2 separate regions of the Homo sapiens genome follow, and region 2 is linked to region 1. Evidence: promoter capture Hi-C in human tissues and cell types (Jung and others, 2019). All regions are on one chromosome and are shown on one strand. The core of a region is centred on a gene start or on the middle of the fragment in contact, and the rest is flanking DNA. Distances in the headings are between cores, read along the strand shown. Region 1 holds the start of SLC9A3 (solute carrier family 9 member A3). Region 2 holds the start of LOC124900931 (a long non-coding RNA gene).

Evidence for each region. The method cuts DNA at HindIII sites, captures the fragments that hold promoters and counts their contacts. A contact is called where the count stands out against the background at its distance.
Region 2: a fragment that was not itself captured here is called in contact with the fragment with the promoter of SLC9A3 in region 1 in 1 of the 25 tissues and cell types used here (lymphoblastoid cells).

Annotation. Positions count from the first base shown.
Region 1 is chr5:521,828-528,678 of GRCh38, forward strand. SLC9A3 (solute carrier family 9 member A3) reads right to left here and starts at 2,622. Exons shown (of 17, transcript NM_004174.4): 1 at 2,285-2,622. The coding sequence starts at 2,495. It overlaps LOC107986395 (a long non-coding RNA gene), which reads left to right and starts at 2,831. Exons shown (of 2, transcript XR_001742543.1): 1 at 2,831-3,136; 2 at 4,585-5,628. RefSeq lists an enhancer at 4,189-4,821. The HindIII fragment of the contact is 12,710 bases long and covers 1-6,265 here.
Region 2 is chr5:961,276-968,126 of GRCh38, forward strand. LOC124900931 (a long non-coding RNA gene) reads right to left here and starts at 2,886. Exons shown (of 2, transcript XR_007058676.1): 1 at 2,824-2,886; 2 at 1,043-1,451. RefSeq lists enhancers at 2,315-2,474, 4,061-4,562. The HindIII fragment of the contact is 5,091 bases long and covers 1,286-6,376 here.

The DNA.
Region 1 (6,851 bases), core at 1,372-3,871:
AGTGGAATCTGAGAAGTCCAGAGTTCACAGGGAAGGGGTTGGGGGAGGAAGCACACAGGGAGGGCTGGGGGCTGTGTTCAAGAGGTGTGGCTGGCAGAGAGGGGATGGAGGGTGGGACACCCTGGGGGCCAATCCGGGCAGACCCAGAGCAGACCTCAGCTGTCACTGCCGGGGCTGCAGAGTGCACAGTGGGTTGAGGGGACGACAGGGAGCGTAAAGGGCAGGTCTGGAGAGGGTCTGCGCCTGTGGGATACCGCGATGAGCTCCCACAGCTGCACAGGGTAAGGCTCGCCTTCCCAGGTGGAGCCAACAATCCGAGACAAAGACAGCCGCTGAGTGCTATCAGGGTGGGCCTTTGTAAAGGACCGCCCTGCCCCGGGGAGTTGCTGCTGGAGCCGGCAGCCTCCCCGCCCTCAAGGACGTCTTCCCAGAACCAGTCCAAGTGTTTGGGAGACCTGAAGGCTTTTCCCTGTGAATAACAAACTCTGAGGCCAGGCAAAGCCCTGGTCAGTGTGCCTTATCTGCCGGCTCCCAGGCGGGGCTGGCTGGTGCCTGGCGGCTGTCATTGGACCTTCAGATGCCAGATTCTGACTCTGTACACTGGGCTAAACTGGGAGAGGCCCCAGCTTGTACAGAAATTAGATATTCACGGCCGGGCGCGGTGGCTCACGCCTGTCATCCCAGCACTTTGGGAGGCCGAGGCGGGTGGATCACCTGAGGTCTGGAGTTCAAGACCAGCCTGACCAACATGGAGAAACCCTGTCTGTACTAAAAATACAAATTAGCTGGGCGTGGTGGCTCATGCCTGTAATCCCAGCTACTCGGGAGGCTGAGGCAGGATGTGGAGGTTGCAGTGAGCCGAGATCGCGTCATTGCACTCCAGCCTGGGCAACAAGAGCAAAATTCTATCTCAAAAAAAAAAAAAAAAGAAAAAAAAAGAAATTACCTTTTCAGTTTACACCAGGGGGGCACTCCCGTCAGAGGAAAGCAGGGTGAGCTTTAGGACTGGGCGGCCGCAGAGCCCAGGTTGAGTCTGGACCTCCCTGATGCCCCAGGGGCCCTTCTCAAGGAAATCAACTGTAGGAGGCAGCCAGCCTCAGAGACTCCCCCCCGGCCAGCATCCCAAGCCCCCAGTGGAAAGCCCAGGGAGGACAGCCTGAGCCTGGAGAGCAGGCAGCCCGGCGGGGAGCTGAAAGACACCAGGGCGAGGAGGAGGCTGCGGAGAAGGGAGGAGGCGGGAGGGCTCAGAAGAGCCCTTATGAGACAGAAAGCAAACACACAAGGGGCCTGAAGGGGAGGGGAGACCCTGGCATAAATAGGGCAGGCGGCAGGCGTCACTGAAGGAAAAGGCGCCTTCTCCAATCAAGCCTGCTGGGCGTACCAGGTTCCACCAAGGCCAAGGTCCTCTCAGCTGTTCTCCCCGGAGCCTGTCCCTCCCCTGTCCTGCGTGGGCGCCCCTCCTCGGCCCCAGCATCGAAACCTCCTCTCGCCCCAGTCCAAAGCTGCTCTGGAAACCTGCCGCGGCGCCTGCTGCTCTGATCTTGCTTCTCCTGGCCCCACTCGGGCCCCCTAATCCCCCCTCCACACGAGTGACCACCTCCCTGCCACCCCTGGAGAGACCCTACCCTGTGGACCAACACATGAAACTTTGATCCCCACGAGCTCCTCAGGAAGCTGACCTTCCTGTCACCTTGCCAGGAGCTACCTGCCGTGCCCACATTACTGGTTCATTGGCGCCGGTTAAGAAGAAGAGAAATCTGACCGACCGGGATTTTCTAAAAAAAAAAAAAAAAAAGGAGGCCCGCCAATGGGAACGCTGCGCCTGTAGGGAGGATTCTGCTGGGTTTCATGCGGGTAGCACCGCTTTTCTTTTCTGCCCTTGTAACTCACGAAAAAACGCCATCACTCCAAGGACGTTTCTCTAAAAAGCCTGAGAACCCCGAAGGAAACCCGGCCCCGGGGACTCCCTGGGCGCGAGCAGCCTGCAGTCTGCGGGGCTCGGAGCGGAGGCGGGGCGGAGACCCCACAGGGACCCGGGAGCCGGGAGTCCGGGGCTCCGAGGCTGTGCCCCCGCCGGGGAGGGGAGACCTCGGGACCCGCAGGGGCGGCTTAGCGCGGCCAGAGTCGCTCCCGAGTCTCGCTCTGCTGGACCCGAGAGCCGGACTCTCCCGGGCGGCCGCCGCGCGGCTCCGACCTGATGCGCGCGGCCACAACGAAGCCCCCAGGCCCAGCAGAGGCGGCCGCACACCCCGCGGGCAGATCCGGAGACCCCGGGGCCACTTACCGATCTTGGCCAAGCTGGCCACGAGGATCCAGAGCGCGATGACGTAGGGATCCTGCACGTGGGCCCACTCGAAGGTGACCACCTGGAAGCCCCCGCTCTCGCCGTGCGCGCCGCCGGGCTCCACCTCGACGCCCCCGGCCCGCGCCAGCCCGCCCAGCGCCAGCGCCAGCAGCAGCCCCCGGTCGGGGCCCCGGGCCCCGAGTCCCCACATTGCCGCCTGCTCAGCGCAGGGCTGGGACGCGCATGTCGCGGGGGGTCCCGGCTGGGCTGGGCCGACGCGCGGGGCTGGGACCCGGCGAGGACCCGGCGCGCTCCGGTGCCGGTACCGGCTACAGTCCGATCCCCGCCCGCCGGGGTGGCCTTTAATCCCGCGGCCCCCTCCCGCCCCGGGGCGGAGCCTGCCCGCCCCCGCCGCGCACTCGCGAGCGCAGACACCGCCGCAGCTCCCGGCACGCCCGCCCCGCCCGCGCACGCCCACCCCGCGCTCCCTGGTGCCCACCCTCCCCCGGAGCCCGCGGCCTGGAGGTCCGGGAGGTCGCGGCAAGAGCGAGCCCGGGACTGCGCGGCCGCCTTCCTGGGGCGTGGGGAGCACAGCGCGGGGCAGCGGGACAGGCGGTTCCGCGCAGCTCCTGGGATGCCCGGGCAGCTGTGGGTGCGCTCGCCCCAACCCTCCTTCATAAACGCAGGGCCTGGGGCTGCGCAGACCCCACAGGGCGGCCCAAGGGTGCACAGGGGCCCCAGGTGTGTCTTCACACAGCCCCTCGCTATTGTCTTCAGCAGGAACCTGCATTCCACAGCCGGACCGGCCACTTACCAGAACTCGGGGGCGCCCAGGCCTTGCGTGGTGCGCTGGTAAGTCTCTCTGCCCCTCCCATCGCCAGCCAGCATCCCCCACCCCAGGCTCTGAGATGGGAGCCCAGGGGCCCCCGTGGTCTCCCCTGCCCCATCCCCTGCCTTTAGACCTCCGCCCAAAACAATTCGATACCCCCAGGGCTTCACACGGATGCGGGGCCTCTGCCCACAGCCCGCTCCGGCAGCACTGGCTCTCTTAAGCATCTCAGGCTCCACTGTGCAAACCACACCCCTGTTTTCCTCCAAGCCCACCCTGCAGCCTTCCAGCCCCAGACCTGGGACGCAGGTGGACTTCTTTCGCTCACAAGGTTTCCAAGCTCTTAGCATATCTGCTCTACTTTCAAAATGTGCACAAAACCAGCGGCTTCTGGGAGCCTGCAGCCACCTGCAAAGGCTCCTGCTCGGCCCTCTACCTGCCCCTTCAGTCCCTCCTATTGGGACCCTCCCTCTCAGAGGAAAGGCTCAACGTCTCCCGGGAGCTCAGACCCCAGCCACTGCCTGACCCCCACCCCCATGCACTCCACGGCCCACACCAGCAATCGGCGCCTCTCGGGGCCTTTGCACGCCCTGCTCCCTCTGTTTGGACGGCTCTTGTGTGCTCCCTTCCTCAGCTCCCCAGGGGCTTGGCTCCAATGCCACCTTCTGGTCCCACCCGATACCCACTCAGCTCACAACTGTGGCAGCTAAGCTCCCGCCTCCCCTGCTTACTCGGTTGGCTCCGGGAATCAGCTCACCTCCCAGCCCTGGGGGCTGCTGGCTTTGACCTTGAGCTGTCTGCCCTCACCCTGGGAATGTCTGCTCCACGAGCAAGGGGCTCATGCATACATCCCAGGAGCTTGGAAGATAGCTGGGCACACAATAGCACTCGCAAGATAGTGGCTGAGCGGATGGATGATAGATGGATGGAAGGACAGATAGGTGGACAAAGGGCAGGTGGGCGGTGGGGTGGGTGCAGATGGAGGATGGATGTGTCTTCTGACATCTGAGTGGGGGCTGCGGAGGCCTGAGGAGGACAGTGCTGAGTTCAATGACTTCACCCTGCAAGGGCCCCAGTTTCATGCTAATGGAAGTGGCCCGTGTAGCACAGGGAAGGTGCATTCAGATGGTGCTCGCCTGGTGACTCGGCTGCTGAGTGGCGTGGAGGGAGGGCAGCCCTGGCCTGGGCCACTGCAGGGTCTGGACAGGGCACCGGGGGAGTGGAAGTGTGTGACTGGCCACTAGTATGGTCTTGCGAGGTGGGAGCATCGGAGTCGCTCTTGGCCTGTGTCCCTGCCCCACCTGTCTCTGTCCCCCACTCCACTCCCAGCCTCTTGTCCCAGAGAAAAAGCCAGCAGGACAAGAACAGGATTCCCTCCAGTCCGGAGCTTCCCTGCTCTTTCCTTATGGTTCCTGGGTGGAGCCGTTAGGAACGACGTCCTCTCTGAAGATGTTGCCCTTGCATTCCACAGGAAGGCCAAATTTCCACCAGACCAGTGTGTTCCATGATGCCCACTGGACCTCCGGCCACCCCACCCCCCAACCAGCCTGTCCTAAGAGCCGACAACCTTTCTCCACAAAGCTGTTCAAAGGGCAGAAGAGCAGTGTCACTGCCTGGAAGGACAAATCCAGAACAGACACCAGTGCCAGGCGCTGGCCATCAGGTAGTGTGCTGCCCACACCTCCACTGCCCCCCACAGCAGGAAGGGCTGCCTCATGGAGAATAGAAAGGCAATGAGCCCCTGAAGTGGCGTGGCCAGAACAAGGCACACCCCACTGCCCACGAGTCCTGCCAGGGCACACCCCACTGCCCACGAGTCCCTGCACAGGTGAGAAGTGTGGCTGTTTGGCAGCATCTCAATCTGTGAGCATTTGGAGGATGAAATGCGTCTGCACTCCAAGGTTGCTGGAGGGCTCGGGGCAGACGGGCGCTGCCCCAGCCTGTGATGGGCATGGCCTTGAGGATGCCAGCCTCATGCAGAAGCCAGTCTAGGGGATTATACAGGGTGTGCACACCCACTCCCCTACCCTCGGACTGGAGCCACAAAACCCTCCCTCTAACTGGGTCGTGGTTTTAGGCAGGGCCGTGGCACCCCACCACTGCAGGGGCCACCATCCATATCAGGCAGACTGTATGAACCGTGCCCCTTGGAATTGTACAGTGCACAACCTGCACATCCTCATGGCCAAAAAGACCCAGAGACTTGTGTGTGTGTGTGAGGGGGTCTTGGGAAGTATCCTGAGAACATTCCTGTCCTGTGGGTGGTGACGATCTGATAACTGCCCGACCACTTCCTGCCTCAGGCAGGCACGCATAGCATTCTGGATCCTTCCACCGTGGCCTGGACCCCTTGTGGTCCAGGGACCCCCTGCACGTATGGGGAAGGGGCGTGGCTGTAAAACATTCAAAAATGTGGAAATAATGCAAAAGCCAGTCGGAAAACAACTGTAATCTTATACCCAGCTGCCACAGCATCTGAACTTCAGGATTAAGAAAATAAAACTGAAAACACCTAGTCTGTCACATTAATTTCCTGTCATGAATTCCACATACGGCTTGTGAAAGTGTCTTGTGGATGAAGAGGCGCATCCATTCATACTGTTGTTAACAATATTTAAGAGAAGAAAGTTAAGTTTTTAAGTAACTTCCAATGCTTGAAGCCAGGCAGGAGACAGGCATCACTGCCCACTCTAAGTTTATTTTTCAACCCAAAGTTGTCAGGGGCCAGGTCTTCTTAAGGAAGGTTTTATTCCACTGGGAGCCACACCTGCTGGCCTTCCCTTGGTCCACACCTGCTGTGTGCCAGGCACATCTCAGCTTCAGGCAAGAGGCCCCTCTGGGAGATGCCCTTCCAGGAAAGAGACCACCGCGCCCCCCCGTCATGCCACCTCCCGTCAATGCCACTCTTATTGGTTGTTGGATCCGGGGGATACAAATGTCTTTCTCAAAAGCAGATTAGAGCTCAGCCCTTCCCTTCCCGGGTGGCCTCTGAGGCCTCAGGTGGGACCTTTCCTCTTCTTCAGAGATGGACAGACTCTTGACCAGCCTGGAGCTGGAGGGCCTGCAGGACTTGAGGCCCGCGCTCTGGTCCGTCCTGTCCGTGTTGGGCCTGGGGTCTCCTCACCCGCGGAGACTCACCTTTCCTGGCTCCCTGAGGGCACCAGCCCGGGTTGGAGTCAGACCCCCCCACTGTGACACCCCTGCGGGGGTAGCTCAGGGCCTGTGTCTGAAGCGGCAGCTCCCCCCGTGGGTTGGGTGGGGAGTTCAGGGGCCCCGGGGTTGGGTGGGGAGCTCAGGGGCCCCGGGGTTGGGTGGGGAGCTCAGGGGCCGGGGGCTGCGCCGGGAGGGGCGAAGGGCTGGGGACGGCGCCGCAGGAGAGTCTCTGTGCCCCGCAGTCCACCCCAGGGCAATGGCGCGGGGGACCTGGCAAGGCCCGGCAGGCCCTCCCAGCACCGTCCCCGGCCGGCCCGTCAGTGCCCGTCGGGGTCGCGCGTCCTCCCTTCCGCCCTCGGGGACAGCCCGGCCGGCCACGCCGCCGAACTCGCCATGGGCCTCTCTCCGCATCCGCATGTGCATCCGCAACCGCTTCCGTCCCGCTGAGCGCACGAACCCTCTCGCTCCTGTCCCTCCCGCCCCGCCCGCCCCGCCCGCCCCGGACGCCTCTGCTGCGGTGTCTTAGCGGTCCGCGGACAGGCGACCTCCCCCGTGGACGCCCCTCTCCCGGCCGCCGCCCCGCCC
Region 2 (6,851 bases), core at 2,581-5,080, 440 kb after region 1:
GGGACCTGTGGGCCAGCTGGTGGGGAGACAACAGCCCCAGAGACCGTGAAGCCTCTGCCACGGCGGGTCTGCGTGAAGGATGTCCTTCCTGGTGGTCCACACTGCCGCAGAAAAATGACCCCCAAACTCAACGGGGTTCTGAAGGGCTTGGCTGGGTGGGTCTGGCTCAGCTGAGCAGCTGTCCCAGGCCATGGCTCTGAAGCCTCCACAGGGCTGGAGGGGCAGGTCCAAGCTCACCCCCAGTGCTGGCAGGTCGCGGCTCCTCGTGGCTGTGGGCCGGACGTCTCCTCACCATGAGGGCCTCTCCACGCAGGGCCCCGCACGCAGTGGCTGGCTTCCTTCAGGACGAGTGACCCAAGGCAGACAGAGTGACCCAGAGGGAAGCCACAGGGTCCTTCAGGCCCTGGACTCAGGAGTGGCATCCACTTGTGCTCTGGTCACATGGACACACCTGGCCCGGCATGGGAGGACGACACACAGCTTTGAGTACCTCCTTGTCTCTGGGCCGTCCCGGGCCCTCAGGCCCCAGAGATTCTGTGATTCTCCCAGCAAAATGCAGCCACTCCTCCCAAGGCCCCCAGAGTCTGCTGCCGTGTGAGGGCTCTATTGGCCCCAGGAGACTTTTCGAGGGTCCTGCACAGCTGCTGGCAGGCTTTGGTCCTTGCGGGCTGTTGTCTGGAGTCCCGTGCACCTCGGGAGATCGCTCTGTTCTCGCGTCGCCTGAGTTCCCACGGCATGGCTGCTGGCTTCACCCAAGCCCGTGACCCAGGAGACAGAGCAACCAGGAGGGAGACCTGGCATGTCCAGCCCAGTTTCGGAAGTGACCCATCTGCACTCTGCCGCATGCTGTCGGCCGCACAGACTCACCTGGGACTACGTGGAAGAAACCGCAAGGGCGTGAGTGCCAGGAAGCCAGGCTCACCAGGCAGAGCCGTTGCATGAGCAGGACACAAACCTCCGTTGTGTCAGGATCTTTCCATCCCAGGGACCACTTCTTGCCGCAGATTAGCCCTTCCCACAGACACAGAGACTGGAACCTTCATGCAGGGTGTGGCCAAAATATATTTCTACAGCATAGTTACACTGGGGAGGAAACAGACAGGGCAGGTGGAGACTGGGGGCCCTGCCAGGGGCCAGGGTCTGCGGGAATGAGGGGGCAGACCACCCCCACCGAGCCCAGATGCCAGGGAAGGAGCCTGGCCAGAAAGATCCAGAAGGACTCAGTGTCTGGCGGCCCTCGCTGCTCCCCATTCTTTGAGGCCGTTGTTCCCAGATGGGATGTCGGATGCGTCTCTGGCCCGGGCCCCTGGTGAAATGTGATGGAGGGGTGTGGATGGAGCGTGGTGGACACAGCAAGAGCCTGGCCAGGCATCCCTGGGGCAGGACAGCATCAGCCGGGGAGCGGGGTCTAGCCCCAGCCGCCTGGCACAGAGTGGCGCCCAATTCTAGAGCTTGAATGAAAGAGGGAATTCAGGAAGACGCTTACACCAGCCAGGCCCCGGGGCACTCAGGACGGTAGCATCACGGGGTGCCAAAGTCTGCAAAGGTGACAGAGGACGTGGGGCCTCGGCAGGGCTGCCTCCACTTCCCCAAGCACACGGAAGACAGGCAGGGTGGACGGGGGTGACCCGGCCTGGGACCTGGGCTGTACCTTAGACCTCAGTTCCCCTCCACATGGAAGCAGCACCAAGACCCACAAGCCCTCGCTGTGGGGACCCCCGGCCTCACCCACCACCGTCCACATGGCCCCCACACCCACGGCGTTCATCTGGGCCACAAGAAGTGTTCCTCCAGGGCACGGCCCACCCAGGCCCACCCTTGGAGCTTCCCTGGTATGGACTGGCTGGGCTGGCAGAATGGGTCAGGGTGCCAGGCAGACTCTCAGGGACTTGAAGCGAGGACAGAAAATACTCCCCAGACAAGGGCAGACACAGGAGGGAACAATGCCTGAGGACACAGGCCTGAGGCAGGCCAAGCGCTGCCACGCGTGGACTGGACGAAGGCCTGCTAGGCATGGCCTGGCTGGAAGTGAAGAACCGAGGCAGCACCTCTGGCTTGGAGGGAGCAGGTGGGAGCCCTTGCACTGGCTTCCTCTCCCCTGTTCTTATTCTTCTGGAATTAGGGAGGCTGCTGGGAGGTAGAGGAAGCACCTGCCCCAGTCCTCAGAGGACAGAATCATGCGAATGCTTAGTTACCGAGACCTCCTTCCCACCTGCACGCCGGGCCAGTGGCTCTGCCCGTGACAGCCCCGGGCCTGGCCTGTGCTCAGCACTCATCACTCTTGGGTCTTCCAGGCCATGGTGGCATTGCACGCCCTGCCCTAGGTGTGGGGTTGTTTCATGTTTCAGAAGCCGAAGGACCTGCCCTCCCTCTCATCTCAACACAGCGCCTGGCAGAGAAGCAGTTCCTCTGTCTACTCCAGGGGCTCACACGCCCCTCTGTAGCCCGAAAGTCGGCCTCGGATGTGATAAGCCAGGAAACTCCCTGGTCACCAGTGCATAAGCCCTCAGGGGCTCCAGACGCAGCAGCTGGTTCAGAATTTGTTATCCTGGACTAAAGCCTCCCCTTGCACCACCGTGGGGGTGGAAGGAGGTGGCTTGTCTGAGAAACACCAACATGGACAGGGACGTTCACTGTCACAGAGACAAGGCCTGGCCCCACCTCCCCACAGGACTCCCTCCCCAGTGCCTGGTCTGACGGCAGAACCAGGCAACACCCAGTTCCGCTCCCCTCACCCTTGCCTTCAGAAGCAACAGATAACGGCAAACCCTTGCGTGCAGCGACCACATGAAGACCGCAGCTGCGCGGGCTGTAGTTTCTTACCCTCTGTCAGCACGCACGGCTCTCCAACAGATGGGCGATTTCAAGTTGCTCTGCATCTTAAATGACCCCTTGATAAAACCCCAAACGGCTTTGGATGGGTCTGTTTCCTGTATCTTAAGCACAGAAAAAACAGCCCAGATGTTTCTGATTCATTCAAGCTTTAGTTCAAGAGCACGCTCTGCCGTGGGAGTTTCTTTGAAACTGAGGAGACACACAGGCCCTTCCTCCACTCCCTCCTGCCTGGCTGAGAAAAGGGACTTGCTTGCAGCCACCTGAGAGCAAACAGCACAGGTGCATGGAAGAGGGTCCCGCAGAGCCCTGGGGAGCCCGGCTGGGGACTCTGGGAAGCGGACGGCATCCACACGTGTCCACGCATTCATCGTTGGTACGAGATCCAACTCCCTACCTCCCGGGGGTGCAGAACGCAGGGTCCAGGGAGACGGCAGCCACCTTGGGGAGGATTCGGCCTTGTGAGATAGCAAGGTCCTTCCCTCAGTGGTCGTGGCCTCCCCAGAGTCCTACACCCCTCTGCTCTGCCCCCAAAGCCTGCACCCCCTTTAGAGGCCCCCTGAGCATGGAGACGGGTCCGTGTACCTGAGATCTGCAGGCACACAAATGTATCTGCAATGCTGCCTCGGTCAGCTGTGTCACATGGTTCTGCGGCTGCTCTGAAAATGGCCATTAGGTGGGAGTTTTTCTTTCCTTTTTCCTCTCCCCTTCTCTGTTATTGATTTAGAGACTTCATGCAGAAATTGAATAGGAGGAAGGGGGTGACAGTCCTCTGAGACCTGAAATCTCAGCCACGCCACGAGTGGCCGAGGGCCCAGGTCTGGTGACCAATGGTGAGAAGGAGTCATCTCTCAGAACGAGGCCCAGACAGTGCCGGGAACCAGGGGGTCCCACCAGGCACAGGCAGAACCAGCACGGTGCCTCCCCAGAGTCCGGTGACCTGAGGAGCTGCCAGGACGGCCAGACCCCAGTGAGTCAGTGACCACCAGGACGGCCAGGCACTCTCAGCAGCAGAATTCAGGCTGCATTCATTTTCTCCAAGGAGTGCAGTGTGGGTTCGGACAGTTTGAGCTCAAGCATTAGGGCTCTGTGGAGCAGGATCACAGCTAGTTATTGGGAAATCACCAAAAATGCATCGATACACAATTCTAGGTTCCAAACAAGAAGAGAAAGGACACTTTCGCTTTTAAAAGAAGGAAGATACAAAGCCTGGCAATGAACAGAAGTTTACAGAACAGAAAAATATGGGGTTAAAAACAGCCATTGGAGTCTTCCCAATTCTCATTCAGAGAGGGTGGCATGAAAGCCAACAGAAATCGATGTTGATAGGAAACAAGTGTCATCAGAGAAGGTAAGGGCATTCGCAGAGGGAATAATATTATTTGTGAACTGTCATGGCATGGCCGTTTTTAAACTTATCTTCACAGCATCTCTCCTCATAAGCAAGAGCATGAAGAGCACGGAGAATGTCTGTTTGGTGGCCGACAGCCATCACGGGGTCTCTACGTGCCGGCCAGTCCTCACCTCGTTTGCACGCGTTTATGAACTTAGCCCTCCCTCCGCACCATGAAGGGGCCCTTATCGTCCCGTTTCACAGGTGTGGAGACAGAGGCTCGAGGGGAGAAACAGCCCTGGCGGGCGAAGGCAGAGCTGAGCTTCCGAGAAGGGCCTCCTGTGTTCAGAAATTCCAAAGGAGAAGTAGAAGTTGTCCTGTGGGCAGGAGGGGAGGGAGAAACTCCCAGATGACAGGTGCGAGCCGCGGCCTCGTGCTGACATCTAGAACCGGATGATGGGAGCGAACCGCGGCCTCGTGCTGACGTGTAGAGTGGGAGGGACCCTGGCATCCAGGGGCTTCTTTCTTGGGGAAACACCAAGTATAGAAAGTCAACCATCGTTGTCTCTCACGTAGGATTAACTGTTGCTTTTCAGCTTTTTTACACTTATTTTTTGTTAAGCTATGTCACTACACTTTTTTTTCTGAAATAACGTTAGACTTATGGAAGAGTTGCCAAGATCGTCCAGGAGTCCCCGCCCCCTTCAGGCAGCTTCCTCCCGTGTCAGCACCTTGCATACCCGACCTTGACCACAAGGATTGAGGCTAAGAATTAACACGGGGCAATTAACTACACAGTAGCTTGATTCAGATTCCTCCAGTTTCTGGTAACATCCACCTCCTGCTTTAGAAACAACACTGAGTTCCATGAGCACGCAGGTGTCATCTCGCTGTAGGCTCCAGCCCACGGCAGGCCCCGTGTTTCCTTGCCTCCCATGGCCTTGCCACTTGGAAGAGCACTGGCTGGGTGTTTTGAAGAACAGCCCTCAGTTTGAGTTTGCTATTTTATCATGTCTGGATCGAAGTTATGTGTCTGTGCCAAGAAACTGGCAGAAGCCCCATACCCTGCTCAGCGTCCGCAGTAGTGACTCACGGGCCCTATGCTTTGCCTCATTATGGGTTGTTTTGGCCCTGGTCACCTGGTTCTGGTGGGATCTGCTGGCTTCCCCCACTGTAACGTTACTATTCTTCATTTGTAATTTATTTATTTGTATTTACTTATTTTGAGATGGGGTCTCTCTCTGTCCCTCAGGCTGGAGTGCGGTCGTGCAATTTTAGCTCACGGCAACCTCTACCTCCCGGGCTCAAGCAATCCACTCGCTCAGCCTCCCAAGTAGCTGGGACTACAGGTGTGTGCCACTGCGCCCAGGTAATTTTTGTATTTTTTTAGAGACAGGATTTCACCGTGTTGCCCAAGCTTCTCTCAAACTCCTGAGCTCAGATGATCTACCTGCCTTGGCCTCTCAGGGAAGATACTTTGAGACTACAAGAGTATCCTATTTCTCCTCAAAGTCTTTTCTGCTAATTTTAGCATGGGTTGGTGGGTTTTGTCTGCAACAATTACTACTGTGGTGTTCTGAGATGATTTGTTTCCTCACTACTCTGCTGGAATTCCTCTGAAGGAAGGACCGCCCTCCCCTCACTGATTTATTCAATCACTCGTGTGCCTTCATGTGGACTTGTGCATATTTATGCTTTGGATGATCATCCCACACTGTCATTATTTACTTAGTTGCTAAAATTTACCCAGCTCTGGCCACTGGGCTTTTCCAGGCGGGCCCTTGGGACCCTCCCATCCTTCGGGAGCACTTTCTCGCTTTCCAGCATAACCCCAGGCTGCCCCGGTTTTTCCCCCAGCCCTGGAATCCATCATTTCTCCAAGGAACCCTGCTCTTTTTACTGGAGAATGAGCTTTAGAGACCAAGGTCAGGGCACTAACTGTGCTCATTGCTGCTGGGGTGTCGCTGAGCAAAGAGAAATGTGAATAGCAAATTAGCCTATAATTATTAATAATTATTTATTGATGGGTAAATAAAGGAATGAATGAAGGAGGAATTATTCAAAATACTCAAAAGATGGATGTTGAGTACGACACTTCCTCCTTGTAAGAAATAATTTAAATGTAAATGAACACGTATCTAACTTACAGCAGGGGCTATGCCTCTTGGTGTTTTCCTGTGTGTACATCGCTGTGACACATGAAAAACGGAGAGACACCCAGAGGCAATGAGAAATGCTGAACGACGCAAAGCAAAACAAAAGCAAACATTTAAAACAAACTTCTAAGTTTACAAGAAAGAAAGAACAGACTTCGAAAAAATACCCACCTGTCGATAAAATGAGATAAATTGACCATAGATGAACCTGCTCATCAACCAGTCTGGGATCCATATTTACATTATTTCTGTGATGCCAGAACTACCAGGTAAAAAGACAAACAAACAGAAACGGTCCCAGGCTGGTGACAAGCCAAGACTGCCTAAACCAGGGCCACCTGCTCTGAAGGGGGACTCCCCCACCTGCCTCCTGAGATTCCCACGGTCAGAGTTCCCCCAAAGACGATCCTACAGTCCTAGTGACGAAACACCCAGGGAAGCCAGCCCCAGGAGTGAGAGCTGCCAGAGGCCGCCTGTGCCCAGACACGAGCCCCAGAGTTAATCTATAGTGACCATCTTTAAAGTTATCA